Linked DNA regions of Homo sapiens: all the other regions are linked to region 1. Evidence: promoter capture Hi-C in 16 types of primary human blood cells and fetal thymus (Javierre and others, 2016). All regions are on one chromosome and are shown on one strand. Each heading gives the region's core, a stretch centred on a gene start or on the middle of the fragment in contact. The rest is flanking DNA. Distances are from core to core; before and after follow the strand shown.

Region 1 (3,409 bases), core at 843-3,342:
TGATGCCAATACGGCAAAAGCTTCTAAAGCTGCTTGGCGTACCCTGCGTTTGCTATCTACAAGAGCTGGGGCAAGATCAAAGGACAGTTTGGGCAAGTCAAAATCCTCACTAGGATAGGTCAGCAGGGAGCAGATGCAAATGTTCACCACCTCCTCTCTCACTCTGGAATGCTTATGTTTGAGATGTTCCAGGAGTAAACAAAGCACCTGCTGAGGTCCTACTTCCTTCATTAGCTTGAGGAAGATTTTCATGTATTCTTGTTTGATCACCAACTTGTTGTCCGCCAGCACTTTGACAGAAGCTGCTATAACTGGTCCCAAGAACTGCTGTACCTGCTCTCCAAGGCGAATAACCAGTAAATGCAGGACTTCAAGTGTGCCATGCACCACTTTGAAGTTAGAATCGTCTAACAAATTATATAGCAAACTAATGAAGCCAACAAGACTAGAATGAGGAGTAGAACTAGGGTTAAATTTTCCCAGCACCTGCTTTAGTTCTTCGACGGCCTGGGTCCGGTTCTTATAGTCTTCCTGATCCAATAATCGTGAATGCAGCTCCTGAGGAATAATCCCAAATTTAAGATTGCTGTTGGAAAGAGTCACTGCACAGGGAAGGGGATCTTCAGGAAATCCAGAGGCTTCAAGTTCCAAATAATAAGGAACCTGACTTCCAAACTGGGACTCCAGGCGGCGATTGTAGTGTCTCCTCAGGGCAGAGGGCAGACGAGAAATGTAAGATTGAAACCTGTCTTGGCCAAGTCGCTCCCCAATTTGTTGAAGTGCGGAGAAAGCTGTCTCAGATTCTTCTTCTGTCTCCTGATCACCAAGCTTTCGGGCTAGGGATATTATCACCTCGGTGAGATCCAGACCAAGCAACAAGTCCTCAGTAGTAAGCAAGATGGGAAGCAGTAGTGCTGTGGAAGCTCTAAGTCGGGCATCGGTACTTTCCAGTCCTTGTTGTATAAGCGTTCTCAGCACCTCTCCAGGACTACGTTTCAGACATATATGAAGGATCTGCAGCGCATCTTTCCGCAGGGCTGGATTCTCTTCCCGTAACGAGACAACTAGTTGAGGCAAAAGTGCTAAGCTAAAGGCCTCTTCAAGCTGGCCTGCCTCCCCCTGACCCCGGAGAACGTCCGAGAGAAGTTGCAAGCAGAGCCGCTTCTCATCACTACCTCCTTCCACAAGCACTCGGCCCAGTGCCCGATACAAAGCTTCCTTGCGTCGGGGGAAGCCAAGTCGACCGCCCCGCCGCGGCAAAGCAGCTTGCAAAGCCTGGAAGGCCTCAGAAGGATCCCGGGCAGTGCGGAGGAGTTGAAGGAGCCGAGTGTCCTCTTCATCTCCCCCTGACAAACCGCCTCCAGACTCAGACCAGCTGCTTGAGACTGCCTCCGAGGGCATCAAGAGGGCCGAGGCCAGAGGCGAAGTTGTAGTGGGGCAGGAACCGTGGTCCCCCGCAGCTCCACGGAAGTAGTAGTTTTTCTCTCCTCTCATAATGCCCCCAACTCGACTATCATCGGTCTCTGGGGCGGAAGGACGACTGCGGCTCTGGAGCCGATAGGTAGAGAGGACTGGAAAGGGCGGCAGCAGAAGCAGCGCGGAGGGGGCAGCCGCCATGCAGGGTTGTCAGGTGGTGGTGGTTGGAAGAAACCATTGCCGTCTCCAAAGGGCTCGATGGAGCCCAGACTTCCAGATCCTCTCCAAGCCCCAAGCTGCAGAAGAGGCAAAAGAACAGCTTCAGCCTGCCGCCAGGCCGCCCCCAACTCCGGGAGGCAGCCTCTGGCAAAATGGCCCCCGTCTGAGCCCTAGACCCCACAGCTGCCACCGGGCGTAACCAAGGGCACCACGTGACCAAACCGATTGCTTCCATGGTGATGTACCCAGCGCGGACCTCTTGACCCGGAAATCCACTTGCCGTGATGAATGCTGGGTTATGTAGTCCACGTCAGGTGTTGAGACTAGGCCAAAGTCTCCTGGAAGAGGAAGTCAGAACGTTGTAAACGCAGCTACAGCGGAGAAGGGAGGAGGGGTGAAGCCATTTGACGGATGTGACGCTTTCCTTGCTCTGGGCGGAAGTTGCCCGCCCCACCCGTAAGAGTTAGGGTTTGACCGGAGCTAGTGAGGATCCAGCCCAGGCTCCAGTTGTCCGCGGTTCCTCCTCCTGTCGCTGCCCGTGTGATTACTGAGACTCAGGTATTTTCCTTTTGCTGTCCTCCAGCGGTGCAGGCTTTGGCAGTGTTTTGCCCGAATGCCACTGGTGCTAGAGTAAGAGGCAAAGGACTGAGCGGAGCAGGTGGAAAGAGAGGCGACATCTTCTTGTGCAGGGCTCGTCACCCTTGTAAACGCGTTACTCTCTACCACCCTGAGTAACTGCGATCCTTTCCTCTTGCCATCTGCTTATCAGGACAGAAGATCTGGACCACGGCCAAGCTCACAAATCGGGTATTTTTTTTCAATTCCTGGTCTTTGGGGCCTTTATTCGCCTCCCCCTTCTCCTTTTGTCGACTTCTCTTAACCCTCCGGCCGCAGAGGGTTAATTTTTTTTTGTTTTTGTTTGTTTGTTTTTGGCAACGTTTCCTTACCCTCATCACTTTGCGTTTTCTTTACAACGTACATAATATGGAAATAGGTCTGTTTTTTTCCCCCTGTAGCTAACCGCCTCTCCCTTAGACGTTATCAAAATCTTTCCTTCTAATGCAGTTCCTCTGTGGGACTCTCCCCTAACCTCCGCCCCCTCCGTCTGCCGCCCTAGCCTCCCTGCAGGATCCTCAAGCGTCTCTGCAGCCTTTCAGTCTCCTAGAGACAGAGATTGCGAAGACAATTTCACTTGCGGTGGAAGTTCTTGGCATCATGGTTCTAAGAGAATTCTGCCTTGTGGATTTAGGAATGATAGTAGACATTTATTTATTTTAGGCGAACTGAGAATTTTGTGTGCATTTTCTCCTCATAAGTGATACTTAAACGGACACAGTGGAAGAGCTGGAGTGTCTAGTGTGAGCCTGAATGCTTTGGAGTGTGGAAGAGATATTTTTTTTTTTTGAAGGAATAATACTATTACTTTTGAATGACTCGTGCGAAAAGTCTAAGTTATCATTTGAAGACCCAAATTTATGCACTTCAAATGCAAGTATTCCTACCCTGCTCTGTACCAGGTGGGATTTCTCTTAAATACTTTTTAAAGTCTTGGAATAAATGAGTCACATATGCCAAACAGCTTTATAAATAATGCTCCCAGCTGATGCAAGTGCAAAAATAATTTCTGGATTTTTGCCTTAAAGTACGATTTGAATATCAGTTTTGTTTTGTTTTGTTTTTGGGGGGGTGGGGGTGGGGAATAGACTATAATGTAAATGAGGCTGTGTAAATATACATCCTATGTTTTGGTTTAAATTCTAGGCTGTTACTTTGG
Region 2 (3,688 bases), core at 1-2,500, 5.9 Mb after region 1:
CCAGGAGTTTTAAAAGATTTAATTATTATTATTGTAAATTATTTTTAATTGATACCAGTTTCTAATGCCCTTTACTTGTTAAGAATAATACCTGTTTTAACTTCTTGCCTTTGTTAAAAAAAAAAAAAAAACCTGTAATACTGACAGGGCTTTTTTTTTTTTTTTTTTTTTTTTTGCTTTTTCTTTGTTTTATGGTGATTTTTACTTTTTCAAGTAGCTTGTTAAAGGAGAAATCAGAAATGCACATGATTGTTTTATACAGAGGTATAAAGCTATAAAAGAATGTGTTGACTGATTCAGCTAACTTAGAAAATAAACCAGGCATAAGTTTTTAGATGATTTAATTACATGGTGTTTAGAGCTACTTACCTATGGATTGATTCAATTGCTTTCACGTATCATAAGCTTAGGTAGATAGCTTTTAGCTAACATTCATTTGATAAGCATAGTGTTTTAAAAATTTTCTGACTTATGTAAGTATTCTTTCATTTTACTTTTAAAGGAGAAGAAATATTCTAATTTTATATTTATTAAGAATATTTTCTCTACTGAAATTGTAACTTTTAAAAAATTGAGGTAAATGGAATAATGGTCTATAATTTTTTTAGTTTCTAAAGATTATTTTCTTTGGAAAAATCTCAAGATTTTTGGATGGGCAAGAAATTTAAAGTAATTTCTTTAATTGTTTTAAAATTAGACCATAGCACAGTGGCGGAAGTCAGGATACCAGGATATGCCTGAGTATGAAAATTTCCGCCACCTTCTGCAAGCCCCAGTGGATGATGCACAGGAAATTCTTCACTCCAGATTTCCAATGCCAAGATACATTGACACTGAACATGGAGGCAGCCAGGTAAGTAGTGTTAATTTGTTTGTGTGTTTGTTTGTTGTTAGGTTTGCAGTGAGGTGTACCTGCTTGCCTTCTGATTTTAATAGATTGCTTCATAAAGCAGACAGAAAGGTAAGGAGATAGGTGGGGAAGGTATCAGTGCTTACTTTTTGCATTAGCTTTTGAGAGCAAAACAGTAAGATTATTGACTAGTTGCCTAAACCTGGCACTTTCCATCATCTTCTGTCTCTAGCCTAGCTTCCTGAACAGGGCCAGGATGGCATTGTGGTGGTATACTAGCTTTGGTTGAACAAGAAAATGTGAACAGCTTGGAAAGTAATATACTTTTCTTAAAGCCGTTTATTTACTGTTAAAGTCTATGAATATGACATTTGTGGTAACTTACATTTTTTCATTGTCTTCATTCTATCATTCCAATTTTCTAGAAAATAAAATTTTATGTAATAGGAAAACACTGTAGTATTATGAAAAGGTTTTGTGGCTTTTAGGATTTTGAGGATACATATACGTTAGATACATATACATACATACACAGTTGCTTTGAGACCTTCAGAAGGCTAAGTTAGGTTCCTTAACATACTCTCATAAAATACTTCTTACTTCTCTTTTGTAATTCTTATAAGAGTTATAATAAATTAATTATAAGTTGTTATTAATTTGTTTTACATGCTCTTTGAAGGCAGGGACTATGCTTTGTATTCCCTAGTGCCTAGTACGGTATTATAAAATAGGTAGCAAATATCAGTAACTGTTATTCAGAAATGATAATTACTATTAGTTTTACTGTATTTATATGAGAGTTATTTCATATTGAGAATTTGCAAAGTACTTCTGCATGCCTTATCTCATTTGATCCTCATAAGAATTCTAGTGTTATTTTCATTTAACAGATAATAAAACTGAGATCTAGGTTACTTATGGCCAAGGGAACACAGTAAATACAGGAGTGGGATTTGAGTCCTGGTACTCCAGGGCCAGTGCTCTTCACTGTTAGGTTAAACTGATTCCTTAGAGAGTAGAAAAAGATTTTGTATGATACTAAATTTCAAAAGATGTTACTGTCTATGTGCTTCCATTATGAGTTAAAAATCTTACTGGTTCTTTCATTGATGTCTCACTGTGTGTATTACCATTTTCCTCTTTTATTCTGGTTATTATTTTCATGATGATAAGCCATAGTGGGTAGAAGGATAAAATGTTGGATCACTTGTCTCATAGAATCACCTGTGGTTTAAGAAAGCTTAAGGGTCATTATTTTAAGCAAAAGAACATACAGATTTTCATGGCTTTTGTTTTTATCATTATTTGGGATTTTGAACTTCTGACCAAGTGTTTAGTAATTTCACACCAACCTTGTCATAATTGTTGCACACATAATTTTTATATGCTGAGTTTTGGACTCAACAATGTATTTGTTATTTTGGATGTATGATTTGGAGAGAAGAGGTGCATTTATTATTTATTTGTAACACTTAGTGACCTATACATTTCAAAGTTTAATCTTTTAAAAATTAAGTTAATAAAATTAATTTTACCAACACATACTAAATAAAATTGATTTTGCATGATATAATTATTCAGCTGATATTGACTGAAACCATTTTTGATGGATAATGTTATTTCTTCTTTGCTTTTAAGGCCCGTTTCCTCCTTTCAAAAGTCAACCCTTCACAGACTCATAATAATATGTATGCCTGGGGGCAGGTAAGTTTAAATAGCAGGTCTTGGAAATTATTTCTTTGTGTATTTATTGTTTATTATTTTAGTGAAAGCTACATTTTTTTCCTGTGTATTTAGTAATGGTTTCTGTTGGAAAAGTAATGTAAAAATGAGAGTAGAAAACAGAATTAATATTTGGCGACACCATAGGACAAAAGTGATCCTATCAAATAGACTCCAAGTTTAGCACTATACCCTTGAGACAAAAAGCAATGAAGTGTGTAAGACAGGAAGTGGTGACTCCAGTTTAATGCTAGGTTGTGAACCACAAAAGGCCACGATAAGCCAAGAGAGGCCAGGGATCATAGTTGAGAAGGAGGGGCAGGAACCCTGCAAATCATTATTGATATAGTTTAATTTGGTAAAAGTCCTGCTGGGTGTGGTGGCTCATGCCTGTAATCCCAGCTGCTCAAGAGGCTGAGGCAGGAGGATCACTTGAGGCCAGGAGTTTGAGACCAGCCTGGGCAACATAGCAAGACTCCATCTCTTAAAAAAAAAAAGTGTTAACCTCTTGGTATAACATATCAACATTTATTGAGTGTCCAGTATGTTTAGGACTTTGTATTGGCTCTTTAGGGTGCAGTTATTACCCATGCCTTTGGAGAGCTTGTAGTCTAATATTAGAGATAAAATACATACCTAAGTAAATTACAAGGCAGAATGGGATATTTGTCCTTAGAAAGCTATGAAGTATTACAAAGGTTAGAAGAGGAAGATGGCAAGAGGTCACATAGTGGTAGCAGGAAGAGGGTGTGTAATCAGAAAAGAGCTCAGAAAAAAGAAACATTTCATTTAAAGAATGGTTATTTCAGTAATTGGAAATTGCATGAGGAAGGGAAATCTAGGTAGAGAATAGTATGGGCTAAGATAAAAGACTACATGCAGAGCTGACTAGAAGAACATAAAACGGAAATGTGTTGTACAAGTAAATTGTGGAGGATCTTGAATGTCAGGTTGAGGAGTGAGAAGTTGAGTATTTATTTGGTAAGTAATGGAGAGTCATTGAAGGTGGACAGAGGGCAGATTTGAGTCTTAGTATAGTTGAATCTTAAGATTAAATGGAAGCAGTCTGTAGGTTGAAAGTATATTTACGAAAATAATCCAAGTGAGAGGGAGTAA
Region 3 (3,722 bases), core at 737-3,236, 5.8 Mb after region 1:
ATTAACATCTTTATTATAGTGAATCTTCTAAGGATTGAGCCTGGTACATTCTTCTACCTATTTCTTTTAAAAATTGTCTCAATCTTTTATGGTCTTCTGCGTAGACAGTTTTCATTTTTCCTTTCCAATCTTCCTCCCATCTATTTCATCTTCTTGCCTTATTGCACTAAGATGGTTCATCCAGTAAAATGTTGAATACATGCAGGAATACTGGATATCTTATTTTGTTCCCAATCTCAAGGGGAAAGTGTTCAATATTACACCATTGTGTATCCTCTTCATATATGGCTGGACTTAATCTTCTAATATTTTGTGTAAGATTTTTACATATATATGTGAGATTACCATGTAAATTTCCCTTTCTTGTGATATATTTGTGACCTGCTTTCAGGGTCATATACGCCTCATTAAATGAGCTAAGAATTGATTCCTTTTCCTCTATTCTCTGGAATTTGTATGAATTGATAAAATTAGTTAATGAAATCTTCTGGACTGGAGTATTTCATCTACTCCCTGCCTTCATCTCCCTTCAGGGAAAAGGTTTGAATTACCTTCAAAGGAGACTGTCATGTGGCTTCTCAACACAAACAATGGAATGCAGAAAACAGATAATTAAAACAATAATTCAAATTGCAGAAAGAAAATACTCACCAATAGAACTCCAAACTGAACAAATATATCCTTCAGAAAGGTAGGTGAAGTAATTTTATGACAAACAAAAACTGAGATAATATCACCAGAAGATCCACACTAATGGAAATTCTAAAAGATGTTCTTCAGGCTAAGAAAATGTGGCATGTATAAGCAATGGAATACTATTCAGGCATAAAAAGAGAATAAAATCCTGTCAACTGCAACAACATTGATGAGCCTGGAGAACATTACATTAAATGAAATAAGCCAAGAATAGAAAGACAAAAAACACATGACTTCATTCACTCATATGTTGAATCTAAACAAAACTGATCTCATAGAAGTTGAGAATAGAATAGTAGTTACCAGAGACTGGGGAGAATAGGAGGAGGGGGTAAATGGAAGAACGTTGGTCAATGCGTACAATGTTACAGTTAAACAGGACTAAGTTCTGACACTCTATTGCACAGTAGGGTGACTATAGCTAAAAATAACATATTGTTTTGTTTTTTGCTTTTTGAGACAGGGTATCACTCTGTCACCCAGACTGGAGTGCAATGGCACAATCTCGGCTCACTGCACCTCTGCTTCCTGGGCTCAAGCGATCCTCTCACCCCAGCCTCCTGAGTAGTTGGGACGACAGGTGCATGCCACCATGCCTGTCTAATTTGTGTGTGTTTTGTAGAGCTGGGGTTTTTCCCAGTTGCCCAGGCTGCATAGTATATTTCAAATAGCTAGAAGAAAGGATTTGAATGTTCTTACAATAAATAAATCATAAGTGGCCGGGTGTGATGGTTCACGCCTGTAATCCCAACACTTTGGGAGCCTCAAGCCCAGGAGGTCGAGGCTGCAGCAAGCCGAGATTGCACCACTACATTCCAGCCTGGGCAACAGAGCAAGATCCACAGATGTAAGAAGGTATGAAAAGCAATGTTAAAAAGCGGTATTCAATAAATAAATACTGAATGTTGTATAAATCAATAATAATGTATTGTGAAGCTTAAAATATAAGTAGACAAACTACATAGAAAAAGTACCATAAATGGACTAAAATGTTCTAAGGGTCTTGCATCATGTATGGATGTGTGTTGTAAATTCTAGGAAAACTGAAAACCACTGAAACAACTGTAAAAGAATGCAGAAGTATCAATTTAACAGAGGGAGATAACAGATTAATAATTATTCATCCAGTTCAAAGGAAGAAAAGAAAAACACAAAATAGGCAAAACAAAAAAAAAGGCGGGGTTGAGGGCAATTAGCCAGGGCTCGGTAGCTCACGCCTCTAATCTCAACCCTTTGGGAGGAAGAAGCGGATGGATCTATTTAACTGGGTCGCTTGAGCTCAGGAGTTTGAGACCAGCCTGGCCAACATGGCGAAACCCTGTCTCTACCAAAAATACAAAAAATTAGCTAGGTGTGATGGTGCAGGCCTGTGGTCCCAGCTACTTAGGAGGCTGAGGCAGAAGAATCACTTGAGCCCGGGAGGTGGAGACTGCAGTGAGCTGAGATTGTACCACTGCACTCCAACCTGGGTGACAATGAGACTCCCGTCTCAAAAAAAAAAAAAAAAGCAATTAGTAAAATGCTAGATTTAAACCTAAACGTGCCAATAAACTTAAGCAGACTGCCAAGACAAAGGCTGTCCTAATTTTTTTTTAAACCTACTTATAAGACACATTGTTAATAAAAGGATTACAGAAAGCTTGAAAGTAAAAGGATAGGAAAAGATAAACCATACCAACATTATCCCAAAGAAAGGTTAAGTAGCTATACTAATGGCAGGCAAAGTAGACTTTAAGACAAAAGCCTTGTTTGGAATACAGATATCTGAAAATTCCAAAAGGATTAATTCATAAGGAAGATAAAGCAATTTTAAATGTATATGCACCTACTATAATAGCCTCAAAATATGTAAAATAAAAATAGAAAGGAGAGGCCGGGTGTGGTGGCTCACATTTGTAATCCCAGCACTTTGGGAGGCCAAGGCGGGTGGATCACGAGGTCAGGAGTTCGAGGCCAGTCTGGCCAACACAGTGAAACCCGTCTCTACTAAAAATATAAAAATTAGCTGGGCATGGTGGCAGGTGCCTGTAATCCCAGCTACTCGGGAGGCTTAGGCAGGAGAATAGCTTGAGCCCAGGAGGCGGAGGTTGCAGTGAGCCAAGATGGTGCCACTGCTCTCCAGCCTGGGTGACAGAACAGAACTAGGCTCCATCTCAAAAAAAAAAAAAGAAAGGAGAAAGATAAATCCACAAATCACAGTGGAAGATTTTAACATACTTCCCTTGGTATGTGATAAAACAAGCCCACAAAGACTTGGTAAGGATATAAAAGATTTAAATAATACAAGTAATAAAATTGACCTAATTGGCACAAGCTAAACTGCATATGATAGCTAAAGAATCAACTTTTTTTTCAGGGCCACATGCCTATAGTTTCTAAACTTAATCATATGCAGGGCCCAATAGCAACTCTCAACAAATTTTAAGTGATTGAAACTATACAGAGAATGCTCTTTAATGAAAGTGGAATTAAGCCAGAAATAGATAATAAAAAGATAATTAGAAATTCCCATACATTTGGGATTTGGTTTTCAAAAGTTTTATTATGATGTGCCCATGTGGTTTTTTTAAAAATTACTTATTTTTTTGAGATCCGGTCTCATTCTGTCACCCAGGCTGGAGTGCAGTGGCACAATCACAGCTCACCACAGCCTCAACCTCCCAGGCTCAGGTGATCCTCCCACCTCCACCTCCGGAGTAGCTAGGACTACAGGTGCCCGCCACCATGCCCAGCTAATTTTTGTATTCTTCGTAGAGGCAGGTTTCGCCATGTTGCCCAGGCTGGTCTTGAACCCCTGGGGCTCAAGTGATCTGCCCACCTCAGCCCCTCAAAGTGCTAGGATTACAGGCATGTGATTCACCACACTTGGCCAGTTGTGGTTTTATATTGAGAAATAAAAATAAAATTCTAAGTCCCCAACTGAATGGACCCCCTCTTAGCCAAGGGGACCCCAAAGAAACCTGGGAAACAGTTCATAGCTATGACGGGATGAGAGGTCCAACATGCCTCATTATACCTACTCCCTC
Region 4 (3,808 bases), core at 1,271-3,770, 5.8 Mb after region 1:
CGGCTCAGACTTCTTTATCTCAGAAAACATTTCCATATTATTTAAGCTACTATTATTTTGGGCTTTACAAATCTAATTGCCACCAATAAAATATTCCATGTGTTTTCCTATTTCACTGAACTCCTTCTTTACCACCATATAAATTGGTGGGTGCTTTTAATTTTAAACAGTAAGTTGCAACTTACCACTAAGAGCCTCACTTCAGAGCACCTTCTTGCAAGCTGCCGAATCAGTGAATGAGCCTCAGGTAACAAAGGCTTTTCAAGACAAGCCAATAAAGCATAAAGCCATCTTCCCTAAAAAAAAATTCAAAAAATTAATATTTAGACAAATACTGAACCAGAAGTTTATTTTTTAAATGTCCAATGTTATGCCTGATTATCTGCTATGAATAAATTCATAGAACATTTAACTATATTATGTTTGGGTATAGACAAGAAAGCCTCATTTGGAGAGCCAGGTGTTATCTCTTGTATCCTATAATTACAGACACAGGACATTGGATACCTCAAAATATTCCCTGATCTCCAAAGAGTTTGTTTCAGATATTCTTATGATAGGAAGTTCTCATTTGTAAGCAGAACACTACATTAAGATGAATATAAATACTGGAAAAAATTAAGATACATTTTTTTCTTTGTTCTGTATGGACAGATATAGAAATCATTTTATAATTGTATAATTTTGTCCTCTGGGGACATACAAAGAAACTATACTACAGATGAAATAATCTTTTGACACTTTTATAAATACTTTGACAGGCTCAATGTATCCCCACTCCCTTTTAAAATGGGGTTTTCAGCTACAAAATGAATACATATTTGATGCAGAAAAACTGTGAAGAATACCACAAGCACAAGAAAAAACCTGCAGTCCCAACATTCCAGATCAAACTTTGATTCACTTTAAAAATGTTCTTGTTTTTCCTATTCGTATGTACAACTTTCTTTTTTTTTGAGACAGAGTTTCACTCTTGTTGCCCAGGCTGGAGTGCAATGGCGCGATCTCGGCTCACTGCAACCTCTGCCTCCCGGGTTCAAGCAATTCTCCTGTCTCAGCATCCTGAGTACCTGGAATTACAGGCATGTACCACCACACCCGGCTAATTTTGTATTTTTAATAGAGACCGGGTTTCACCATGTTGTTCAGGCTGGTCTCGAACTCCTGACCTCAAGTGATCTGCCTGCCTTAGCCTCCCAAAGTGGTGAGATTACAGGCGTGAGCCACCATGCCCGGCTGTACAACCTTTTTTCAATACAATTTCATCAGTTGTAATATCATCTTGTAGCCATCTTTTTTATTTATAATACATAATAAAATGTTTACCATGTTGTTTTTGTCCTTTTTCTTTTTTTTTTCGAGATGGAGTCTCGTTCTGTCATCCAGGCTGGAGTGCAGTGGTGCCATCTCGGCTCACTGCAACCTCTGCCTCCCAGGTTCAAGCAATCCTCCTGCCTCAGCCTCCTGAGTAGCTGGGACAACAGGCGCCCGCCACCATGCTCAGCTAATTTTTGTATTTTTAGTAGAGATGGGGGTTTCACCATGTTGGCCAGGCTGGTGTCGAACTCCTGACCTCAAGTGATCCGCCCACCTCGGCCTCCCTAAGTGCTGGGATTACAGGAGTGAGCCACCCCACTCAGCCATCCCTTGTAGTTAAATGGGATTAACAAGGGAATGTTAAGTGTCTTGTTTAGAGTATTTAATAACATTCCCTTGTTTAATCTCATTTAACAACATGGGGAAAGTTTATTAAGTATTGCAAGTAAAATGGTGACAAAGGGTATGTATATTCATCAAGGTTTTTCAGATATGATCACCAGATTGTATCCTGGAAAGGTTATACCAAATTTGTATTTCCACCAGTAGTATATACAACTTTGTTTATTCTAAGCAACATATCACTTCGGGGAAACCTAAAAAATATTAGGACAAAATTTAAATAGCAATTTATACAACACACTAAATGGGTTCCTCAGGCAAACTCAAATCAATAGTTAAGACTTTTTCTTACAGAAAAAGATTCAAATCCAGGTTTCTTTTACAAATTGTGGAATTCTTTTTCTATAAAAAAAAATTATATGTTTCAACTTGACTCAAATTTTAAGGGATACATTTACTATGTAAAGCTAGCATTTAAATTAAATATTTAATTTAAATTAAATATTCTCTACACTTGTCCCAGCTACTCAGGAGGCTGAGGCAGGAGGATTGCTTGAACTTGGGAGGCAGAGGTTGCAGTGAGCCGAGATGGCACCACTGCACTGCAGCCTGGGTGACAGAGTGAGACTCCATCTCAAAAAAAAAAAAAAAAAAAAAAAACAAACTTGTCTGCAATGAGATAAGGAGTTTGTACCTTGTACCAGGATATACATCAACTCTTTCATTGACTTTTTTTCTCCAAGACTTTCTCAATGAAGGAAGTAGTATGTTGATTTACATTCTAGTGTTTCTTATTTGACTACAAACAAGTATAGTTCAGATTATACATATGTATATACACACACACACACATATACAAATATAAATATAAATATAAATACTGGCTGGGTGCAGTGGCTCACGCCTGTAATTCCAACACTTTGAGAGGTGGAGGCGGGCAGATCACCTGAGGTCATGAGTTCAAGACCAGTCTGGCCAACATGGAGAAAGCCTGTCTCTACAAAAATACAAAAATTAGCTGGGTGTGGTGGCAGGTGCCTGTAATCCCAGCTACTTGGGAGGCTGAGGCAGGAGAATCACTTGAAACCAGGAGGTGGAGGCTGCAGTGAGCCGAGATCGCGCTACTGCACTCCAGCCTGGGCAACAGAGGGAGATTCCATGTCAAAACAAACAAATAAATAAAAAATAAATAAATACCGTAGCATCACATCAAGTACAGTCATGCATCACTTAATGAAGGGAGATATATTCTGAGAAATGCATTGTTAGGTGATTTTTGACCCTGGATGAACATCATAGAGTATACTTACACAAACCTAGATGGTATAGTCTACTATACCTAGACTATATTGCATAGCCAATTGCTCCTAGGCTACAAACCTATATAGCACATTACTATACTGAATACTGTAGGCAACTGTAACATAATGGTAAACATTTGTGCATCCAAAAAAACCATATATTTATTTCTTAAGATAGGGTCTCACTCTGTCACTCAGGCTAGAGTGCAGTGCAGTGGCACAATCATGGCTCACTGCAGCCTCAACCTCCCTGGCCTTAGGTGATCCTCCTGCCTCAGCCCTCCCTAGTAGTTGGGATTACAGGCATGAGCCACTGTGCCTGGCCAGATCTAAACATATTTAAATACTGGAAAGGAGCCGGGCTCAGTGGCTCATGCTTGTAATCCAAACAGTTTGGGAGGCCAAGGTGGGAAGAACACTTGAGCCTAGGAGTCTGAGATCAGCCTGGGGAACATGGTGAGACCTCGTCTCTATTTAAAAAACACAAAAGGCCGCACACATGGTGGCTCATGCCTGTAATTCCCAGCATTTTGGGAGGGTGAGGAGGCAGGATCATTTGGACTCAGTTCAAGACCAGCCTGGACAACACAGTGAGACCTTGTCTCTAATAAAAAAAACAAAAAACAAAAAACAAAAAAAACTGGGCGTGGCTGCATGCGCCTGTAGTCCCAGCTACTCAGGAGATTGAGGCAGGAGGATTGCTTGAGCTGGGGAGATCAAGGTTGCAGTGAGCTATGATTGTAATACTGCACCCCAGCCTGGGTAACAGAGCGAGACCTTGTCTCAAAAAAAAAAAAAAAAAAAAAAAGAAAAGAAAAAAAGAAAATGTGCAGTAAAAATACAGTATT
Region 5 (3,452 bases), core at 943-3,442, 5.9 Mb after region 1:
TTTTCCTAGTTGTCAGAAAGTATATATGACATATGAGTCTTTGTACAAGAAGGTCTAATATGTCAAAATCCATAGAAAAAGTTTGGAAAGTAATCGTATTTGGGAAGATTTTTTTTTCTGCCACAGGAGATAATTAATCACATTGAAGAATAACACAAATTACTGACTTATATATTAATAGTTTTTAGCCATAAAATGAACCACAAAATATTAACAGTCAGCTTTCCTAAGGCAGGTGCAATAGTTTTTTTTTAAACATTAAAATTTATAAGAAATATATTGACTCTTATTGACAAAAACAAAACAACACACAAAAACAAAGCAAGAATGTCTGTTGTCAGAATGCAGGAATAAAGTTTTCCTATTGATTACTTGTATTTCTTTCTGATGATAATTATTATATATTGCTATTAGTTTCTTCTCATTATTAATCTTTCATTGGTTGGTTGTTCATCATATGATTATGTTCCTAAAAGTTCTGCTTTCATCTTCTATACCTAGGGGAGGAGGACTTAGCTCAATTTCTGTTTATCTAGTTACAAGTTGAACATCTCAGATCTGAAATCTGAAATGTTTCAAAATCTGGAACTTTCTGAATGCTGACATGACACTCAAAGAAAATGCTCATTGGAGAGCATTTTGGATTTTGGATTTTTGGATTTGGGGATCTTCAATTGGTATAAGGCAAATATTCCTGAGTTTAAAAAAATACAAAATCCAAAACATTTCGGGTCCCAAGCATTTTGGATAAGGGATATTCAATCTGTGCAGTTTGGCTTAAATGGCTTCACTTAGGAATTGTCTTTTAATTTCTTTGTGCTCTCCCTTTTCTTTGTTCTTTCATGTCCCTCTGGCTTATATATTACTTGAAAATTGATTTCCTAGCAGGACTGACTTCTATCATTCTTGATTATTTTCCTCCTCTCCAAATTAATTTCTCCTCTTCTGTGTAACAAATTATAACTGTTTTGAATGCACTGGAAATAAGTATCCTTCTAATCAATTTTAGAATGAATTATTTTTAGTGCTAGGACATGTAGCCTGTGATTATATGACAACAGCATAGTAAATTTTGCTTAGGTTTTACTCCATTATATTTATACAGCATAATGCTCCAATTCCTCAAGGAGGGCGTGGTGCAATCCAGTTTGTGACTCAGTATCAGCATTCAAGTGGGCAGAGACGCATCCGAGTGACCACCATTGCTAGGAAGTAAGTTGTATTTGTTAGAGATTTGATTTTCATATCACAGGTATCTGGGTTGTGTTTCCAAACTGGATTCCTATTTTGGGTGACATCCATGACTAGCAAGTGAATATTTGTGACTAATAGTATTTTATTTATTTCTTTCTAACCCAGCTTATTTGCTACAATATGCATTACTAAGAACCGTAAGAGCAATTTTAAAAAGTACTTCTAAGACACACCCTTCAAAATATTATTTTATTTACCTCATTCCTGTGAGAGGAGAAAAATCAGATATTTACCTATAATAGTCAATAATAATATATATAATCCATTATATATATAAATGATATAGCACAGTAATTAATCACATTACTTTTCAATTAGTGATAAAAATTCTTAGCTATTTTTTTTTCAAGTTTTATTAGTCATTTAATTCATTTATTATGCCATTACTCAGCTTCTGCTTTGTGGAGTAGGTTCTGTTTTAGGAGAGTATGAATGCGGAAGCCGTGAACGTACTTAGCCTCCTGCTGTATGACAGTGTGGTATAGAGTCATCCTCACATTGTCTGTGGTAAAGGGCCAGTTGTGTTTTTTTTCCTAATCCTTCGGGTACAGATGCTTTTATTAAATACAATAAAAATGAATTACTAGAAAAATGAAATTTTAAAAAGTGATTTAAAACAAACTCCCTGTTTTATATTATTAGATTAATAAGATATAAGATTATTTTGTGAAGTTGCTCAGTTTCTAAATATTTATTCTCAGTTCCTCTTTTGACTTCATGGCACTGGTTCACATACCACACTTTGACTAGCACTTGTTGAGACCACAAAAGGTAAAGTCTCTATCTAACAGATTCAATTATAGGGTAGTATTTTGTGTAACATAGTCATGTTCTAATTTATTGATATAGGCAGGGTCCCCAGAAGGGAATAATAAGGCCCAACAGATACCTTTTCTTATTCCTATCTTTGTGATAGATTTTCCAAATAAGGCATGTATTTGTTCATGGGCTCTTTGCCCAGCATTTGCAGAGACAACAAATTTAACTGAATTTAGTACCTTTCTTTTTATTAAGAATTACGAATAAATTATTTCTCTGCTACTTTGGTATCTCTGTGTATTTGTGAAGTATAAAACAAAAGGAAAATAATTGTGGAATGAGTTTAGTTAGGAAGAGGTTTTTTAGATGAGGTGAATCTAGAAATGAACAGGCTTTGGTCTTTATTTCTGTTTGTCTTGAACTTGGTTGTCTGGATAGGAAAAGTGTTGATCAGTAAACTTACCCAGTTTAGTCATGGTCTCGACAATGGACAAGGAAGGCATTTGTAGCTCTCATTTTCATTAAGTGTACTTAAACTCTAGCTTCATTCCTGAAAATCTTAAGACTTTTGTTGAGTGATGGACATGAACACAACATTTGAACTGAGTATTAGCTGTATTGGGTGATCTATTACTTAGCACAGGGTTGTACATAGATTTAGTGTTCTGTTCTGTTACCTTGCTTTGACTTAACATCCTGGAACAATGTCAAGGGGATACATTATTCATTTGAAGAAAAAATGTCAGCTGAACCTTCCCTTAGATTTATTCAGATTTCAGATAAGGAACTTGGAAGTACTGATGCTTGGCAAACTTCTCAGTTTATTTATGGCTCTCAACGTGTGTGCACACACACACACATGTGTGTGCACACATTAAATTTGACATTCAGAACATTTGCTTAAGGAAACAACGACATACCAAATGAAGGACTTTTTACAACTTACAAAGTCACTGGTTTGTACTATTCAAAAATGTCTTGGAAGACAAAGAAAGTCTGAGCAACTGATCCAGATTAAAGGATACTAAAGAAACATTACCACTAATGCCAATGTGTGATCATGGACAAAATGCAAATGTCAGGGAAAAATTTTGCTTTAGAAGCCATTATTAGACAATTGGGGAAATATGAATATAGTCTCTTTCTATATGATAATGGCATTATATCAGTGTTAGATTTCATGAGTTTAATAATTGGAGCTATATAAGAAAATTTTTTGTTCTTAGGAGATATACACTGAAGTATTTCAGGCAGAAGGTCATAATATCTCCAACTTAATCTAGAAAAGTTCAGCAAAAAATGTGTATATAAATGGAGAGAGAGAATGATAATGCAGATGTGTTAAAATGCTAACAACTGATGAATCTAGGTGATGGTTATATAGGAGTTTATTCCACTCTTACTGTCTTTATGTTTGAAATATTTTTAAAATGAAAATT
Region 6 (3,818 bases), core at 365-2,864, 6.9 Mb after region 1:
AAATTATTTATCTGCTTGTTAATTTTTTCCAATTTTTCAACTGTACTTCAATAAGTATTCCATATGTATATATTTGTGCAATTCTAAGAATGCTTCAGAAGTATACATTCTTAAAGTGCAAGTAGTAGCTCAAAAGGCATAAGCACTTTATATTTTAGTGGAAATTTCTAAATAGTCTTTCAAAGACCTTCTGGTTGGCAGTAGTCTCGCCAACATTGGATATAAGTGCCCAATCTCCTTATGCTGTTAATTTTTATTGGGACATAAAAATTGTGTGTTTACACAAAATTGAAAATGATGTGTTTACAAAGAATTTTCATATATGCCATGGACCAAATTGTATTTCTCCAAAATTCATATGTTGACTCCCTAACCCCAATGCTTCTATATTTGAAGATAGAGTCTGTGAGGATGTGATAAATGTCAAATGAGGTCATAAAGCTGGGGCCCTAATCTGATAACAATGGTGCCCTTATAAGAAAAAGAGAGACATCAGAGTTCCTATCTCCACTGTGAGAGGACACAGAGAAGATGGCTGTCTCCAAGCAAGGAAGAGAGCCCTCACCAGAGACTGACTATGTCAGGCCTTGATCTGGGACATCTAGCCTCCAGAACTGTGAGCAGAAATTTTTCTGTGTTTAAGCCATGCAGTCTGTGGTATTTTTATTACGACAGCCTAAGCAGACTAATACACACGTCATTTCATTCAAAACTCCTGTCCATGCAAAGGGATACCACCATTCCTAATTTACAGGTAAGGAAATGGCATTAAGAACGTGCTCAGATCACATGGTTTTTAATTGGTGATGCAAGGAGTAGAAGGCAGCTTTTTTGACTTGCAGTCAGGTGTTCCTTTTTATTACGGAAGAGTAGTCTTGTTCATTACAATTCCAGCTCACTTATTAGCTACTACTATGGGAAATCTATTGAAATCACAAAATGCTTGAGTTGTAAAAGTCTTTGGAGGTTATCTAGTCTAGCATAGAAAGTGAGGCCCTGAAAGATCAAGTAATTGGTCCAAGATGACACAGCTAGTTAATGGAAAACCTAAGATTGTTATTCAATTTGACTTGAGTCTAGTGTTCTTGGATTTTTTTTTTCTTTTTTTGAGACAGAGTCTTGCTTTGTTGCCCAGGCTGGAGTGCAGTGGCATGATCTTGGCTCACTGCAACCTCCATCTCCTGGGTTCAAGTGATTCTCCTGCCTCAGTCTCCCGAGTAGCTGGGATTACAGGCATGCGCCATCACGCCCAGCTAATTTTTGTATTTTTAGTAGAGACGGGTTTCACCCTGTTGGCCAGGCTGGTCTTGAACTCCTGACTTCAGGTGATCCACCTGCCTCGGCCTCCCAAAGTGCTGGGATTACAGGCGTGAGCCACCACGCCCAGCCCTTTAATTTTGACATAATCATATTTCAAAGTTTAATTTTAATGTATAAATTATTCCTTTGTAAGTATTTCCAAATACTACTATAATTCTATAAATATGGTTATTTTTCAGGTCACAAACTTTATCTCATAAAATAGAAGTTGCCCTTTAAAATTCCAATCAGATTTATATTCTGATGTCCTTTGGTAAAGTGATGTAGCACATAATGGCCAGTGTTTGTTTCAGTCTTTTTTTTAAGCATGATTGAGCCTTTTTCTTTTATATATGACTCTATTGCAGGACTTAGTTCATTCAGGGGCTGAAGGCTTCCACATCTCTCGTTTCCATGCTAATTAAAATGTCAGTCTCTTCTTCAGTCTTTGGATATGTGCAACAGGAGATTAGAGTTTGTCTGCTTCCTTTATATCAGCAAAATGGATCACACTGCTGCCAGGAGAGTCCCATTAGTGTCATAAATCATAGAAACACTATACACTTTCTGAGAATGAAGGCTGATAGTTGGAGAGCAGTATAGTAATTTTTGCTGACAGTTACCCCCACCAGGACAAAATAAGAGAGTCCTGGGATCAAGCCACAGATTATTCTCAACATTAGCAAAGTGAGATGCTTTTTGAAAATAATTACTTTCCCTCTACAAAGTGGTATAGATATTTTTATCTTTTTTTTTTTCAAAATTAGTTTTGGCATTTAGTTTCCCAGAATATAAGACTTAAATTGAAAATGGCAGAAAAGTCATTCAAAACCCTCTTCTACTTCCCTTAAATATAACACATTCAGTAGCTTGGTGATTTCAAATATATTTTTTCCCAAATAACAAAGGAAATTAAACTCAATAAGTTATGTGTTAAATACACCATGTAGATTCATTATTTTTTTAAAAACTGCCTATACGGTAGAATACCTAATACACAACTGTGGTTATAGCAGAGGAACTGAAAGGTAACACTGATTCACTGAATGTTTCCAAGACTCAGGTTAACCTATAACTAGAAACAGCTTGAAGACATCTGATTCATGTTGTTTCTAGTGTCCAGAGTAATGGAGCTTTTAAAAATCATTTCACAATACCACAAGTATTTACTCAATCTGTATGAGTTGTACTTCTCTTTTAATGAAAGAGTCAAAACACAGTTATAATAATTCCCAGTAACACCACCCACAGAGAGCTGATTATCAAACTATCTTATTTATTCAAAATGAAAGGTTTCTCTCCATTCAGAAGAGAATATAACAAAAGAATAAAGGGAGCAGGAAGCAGGATACTGGAGAAAAGAGAGAAACGGTGAGCCTTTCTGCACATCAGAATCACTCAGGGAAGATTTTGCAAAACACAGGTACCCATATTTCCCCCAGATATTTTCATTCACCTGGTCTGGGTTAGGGACAGGCGTAATTCTCATGCTTAACTTAGATTGAAAACCACTGTAAGAGAATCAACAGGTACACATGAGGATATATGAGGTATCTCAGTGGACTCAGGAGCACTGCAGAGAATGGACACTTCTGTTATTGAAAGGTTGGCATTCTAGGTATGTGCTCTACTACCCCCAAAGGTGGATGCTCTTGGAGTCTTGCCAGGGAAACAATGGTCAATCCCACCTGCTTGTTCTGTGTGCTTGAGCAAGGTACTCAATATTTGATGTTTCACTTCTTCATTTGGAGAATGGGAATGATAGTACTATCTCATGATCATTAGGATAAAGTGCAGTAATCCACATGAAAGGCTTAGCTCAGCACCTGGCATGTGGTAAGTACTCAGTACATGTTATCTGACCACTTAGTTGGGAGAAAATCATCAGAGCCTTTTTTTTTTTTTTTTTTTGCCGTTTAACCACGTACTAACTGATGTATTTATACACACACACACAGCTCAAGCGAAATGTGCTAAACATTTCTGCTTACAAAGGAAACAGAAGTGGTCATGTGGTAATGGAGCCCTCACCACTATTGCACCCAGATTACAACAGGATACCTCACCCAGACAATGGCTACCTGCCAGGTGACAGGGCTTGGATAGTTCTGTAACAGGTATCTGAATTACAAGAAAAGAAGCTGGAGCAAGTGTGTGTGTGTGTGTATGTGTGTGTGTGTTTCGGAGTGTGTGTGTATGTGTGTTGTGGTGAGGGGTATTGTTGTAGTTGCTACTGTTTCAACTGAAGAAATTCGAAAAAAAATCTATAGGTTGAAAGGAAAGAGCCAAAAAAGAGGGAGAGGTAACTCTGCAGGTGAGGGAGAGTTGTCTAATGGAGCAAGAACCTTGAAGACCCCATGTAATAAGATCAGCCTCAGATGGAGCAGAGCAAGCTCCTCCTCTGAGGTGGAAGGAAAGGGCATTAGGAAGCTGTGAAAGCAGATAAATGTGTTGGCATGGCAGGACAATGGGCAAGTTCTCCCTAGTTGGTCCTTATTTTCTCCAATAAATAAGAGCTG

What was found. The method cuts DNA at HindIII sites, captures the fragments that hold promoters and counts their contacts. A CHiCAGO score of 5 or more calls a contact.
Region 2: a fragment that was not itself captured here is called in contact with the fragment with the promoter of KLHL28 in region 1 in 7 of 17 cell types (non-activated CD4 T cells, M0 macrophages, total CD8 T cells and 4 more); the score reaches 9.9 in non-activated CD4 T cells.
Region 3: a fragment that was not itself captured here is called in contact with the fragment with the promoter of KLHL28 in region 1 in 5 of 17 cell types (total CD8 T cells, total CD4 T cells, non-activated CD4 T cells and 2 more); the score reaches 18.1 in total CD8 T cells.
Region 4: a contact is called between a fragment that was not itself captured here and the fragment with the promoter of KLHL28 in region 1, in 4 of 17 cell types (total CD8 T cells, total CD4 T cells, M0 macrophages and 1 more). The highest score is 7.1, in total CD8 T cells.
Region 5: a contact is called between a fragment that was not itself captured here and the fragment with the promoter of KLHL28 in region 1, in 2 of 17 cell types (non-activated CD4 T cells and total B cells). The highest score is 7.0, in non-activated CD4 T cells.
Region 6: a fragment that was not itself captured here is called in contact with the fragment with the promoter of KLHL28 in region 1 in 1 of 17 cell types (total CD4 T cells); the score reaches 6.7 in total CD4 T cells.

The regions. Positions count from the first base shown.
Region 1 is chr14:44,960,630-44,964,038 of GRCh38, reverse strand. KLHL28 (kelch like family member 28) reads left to right here and starts at 2,092. Exons shown (of 5, transcript NM_017658.5): 1 at 2,092-2,193. TOGARAM1 (TOG array regulator of axonemal microtubules 1) reads right to left here and starts at 1,849. Exons shown (of 20, transcript NM_001308120.2): 1 at 1-1,849. The coding sequence starts at 1,617. RefSeq lists enhancers at 1,392-1,906, 1,556-2,365, 1,907-2,421, 2,936-3,025. The HindIII fragment of the contact is 5,188 bases long and covers 1,217-3,409 here.
Region 2 is chr14:39,037,897-39,041,584 of GRCh38, reverse strand. It overlaps SEC23A (SEC23 homolog A, COPII component), which reads left to right. Exons shown (of 20, transcript NM_006364.4): 18 at 698-853; 19 at 2,489-2,554. Among named protein-coding and RNA genes, the nearest start is that of SEC23A-AS1, 63 kb to the left of the region's middle. The HindIII fragment of the contact is 1,685 bases long and covers 408-2,092 here.
Region 3 is chr14:39,188,672-39,192,393 of GRCh38, reverse strand. No RefSeq gene overlaps it. Among named protein-coding and RNA genes, the nearest start is that of PNN-AS1, 15 kb to the right of the region's middle. The HindIII fragment of the contact is 703 bases long and covers 1,635-2,337 here.
Region 4 is chr14:39,128,446-39,132,253 of GRCh38, reverse strand. GEMIN2 (gem nuclear organelle associated protein 2) reads right to left here. Exons shown (of 10, transcript NM_003616.3): 8 at 186-296. Among named protein-coding and RNA genes, the nearest start is that of GEMIN2, 16 kb to the right of the region's middle. The HindIII fragment of the contact is 9,579 bases long and covers 1-3,808 here.
Region 5 is chr14:39,059,525-39,062,976 of GRCh38, reverse strand. SEC23A (SEC23 homolog A, COPII component) reads left to right here. Exons shown (of 20, transcript NM_006364.4): 13 at 1,106-1,212. Among named protein-coding and RNA genes, the nearest start is that of SEC23A-AS1, 42 kb to the left of the region's middle. The HindIII fragment of the contact is 9,282 bases long and covers 1-3,452 here.
Region 6 is chr14:38,078,042-38,081,859 of GRCh38, reverse strand. No RefSeq gene overlaps it. Among named protein-coding and RNA genes, the nearest start is that of SSTR1, 130 kb to the left of the region's middle. The HindIII fragment of the contact is 6,051 bases long and covers 1-3,818 here.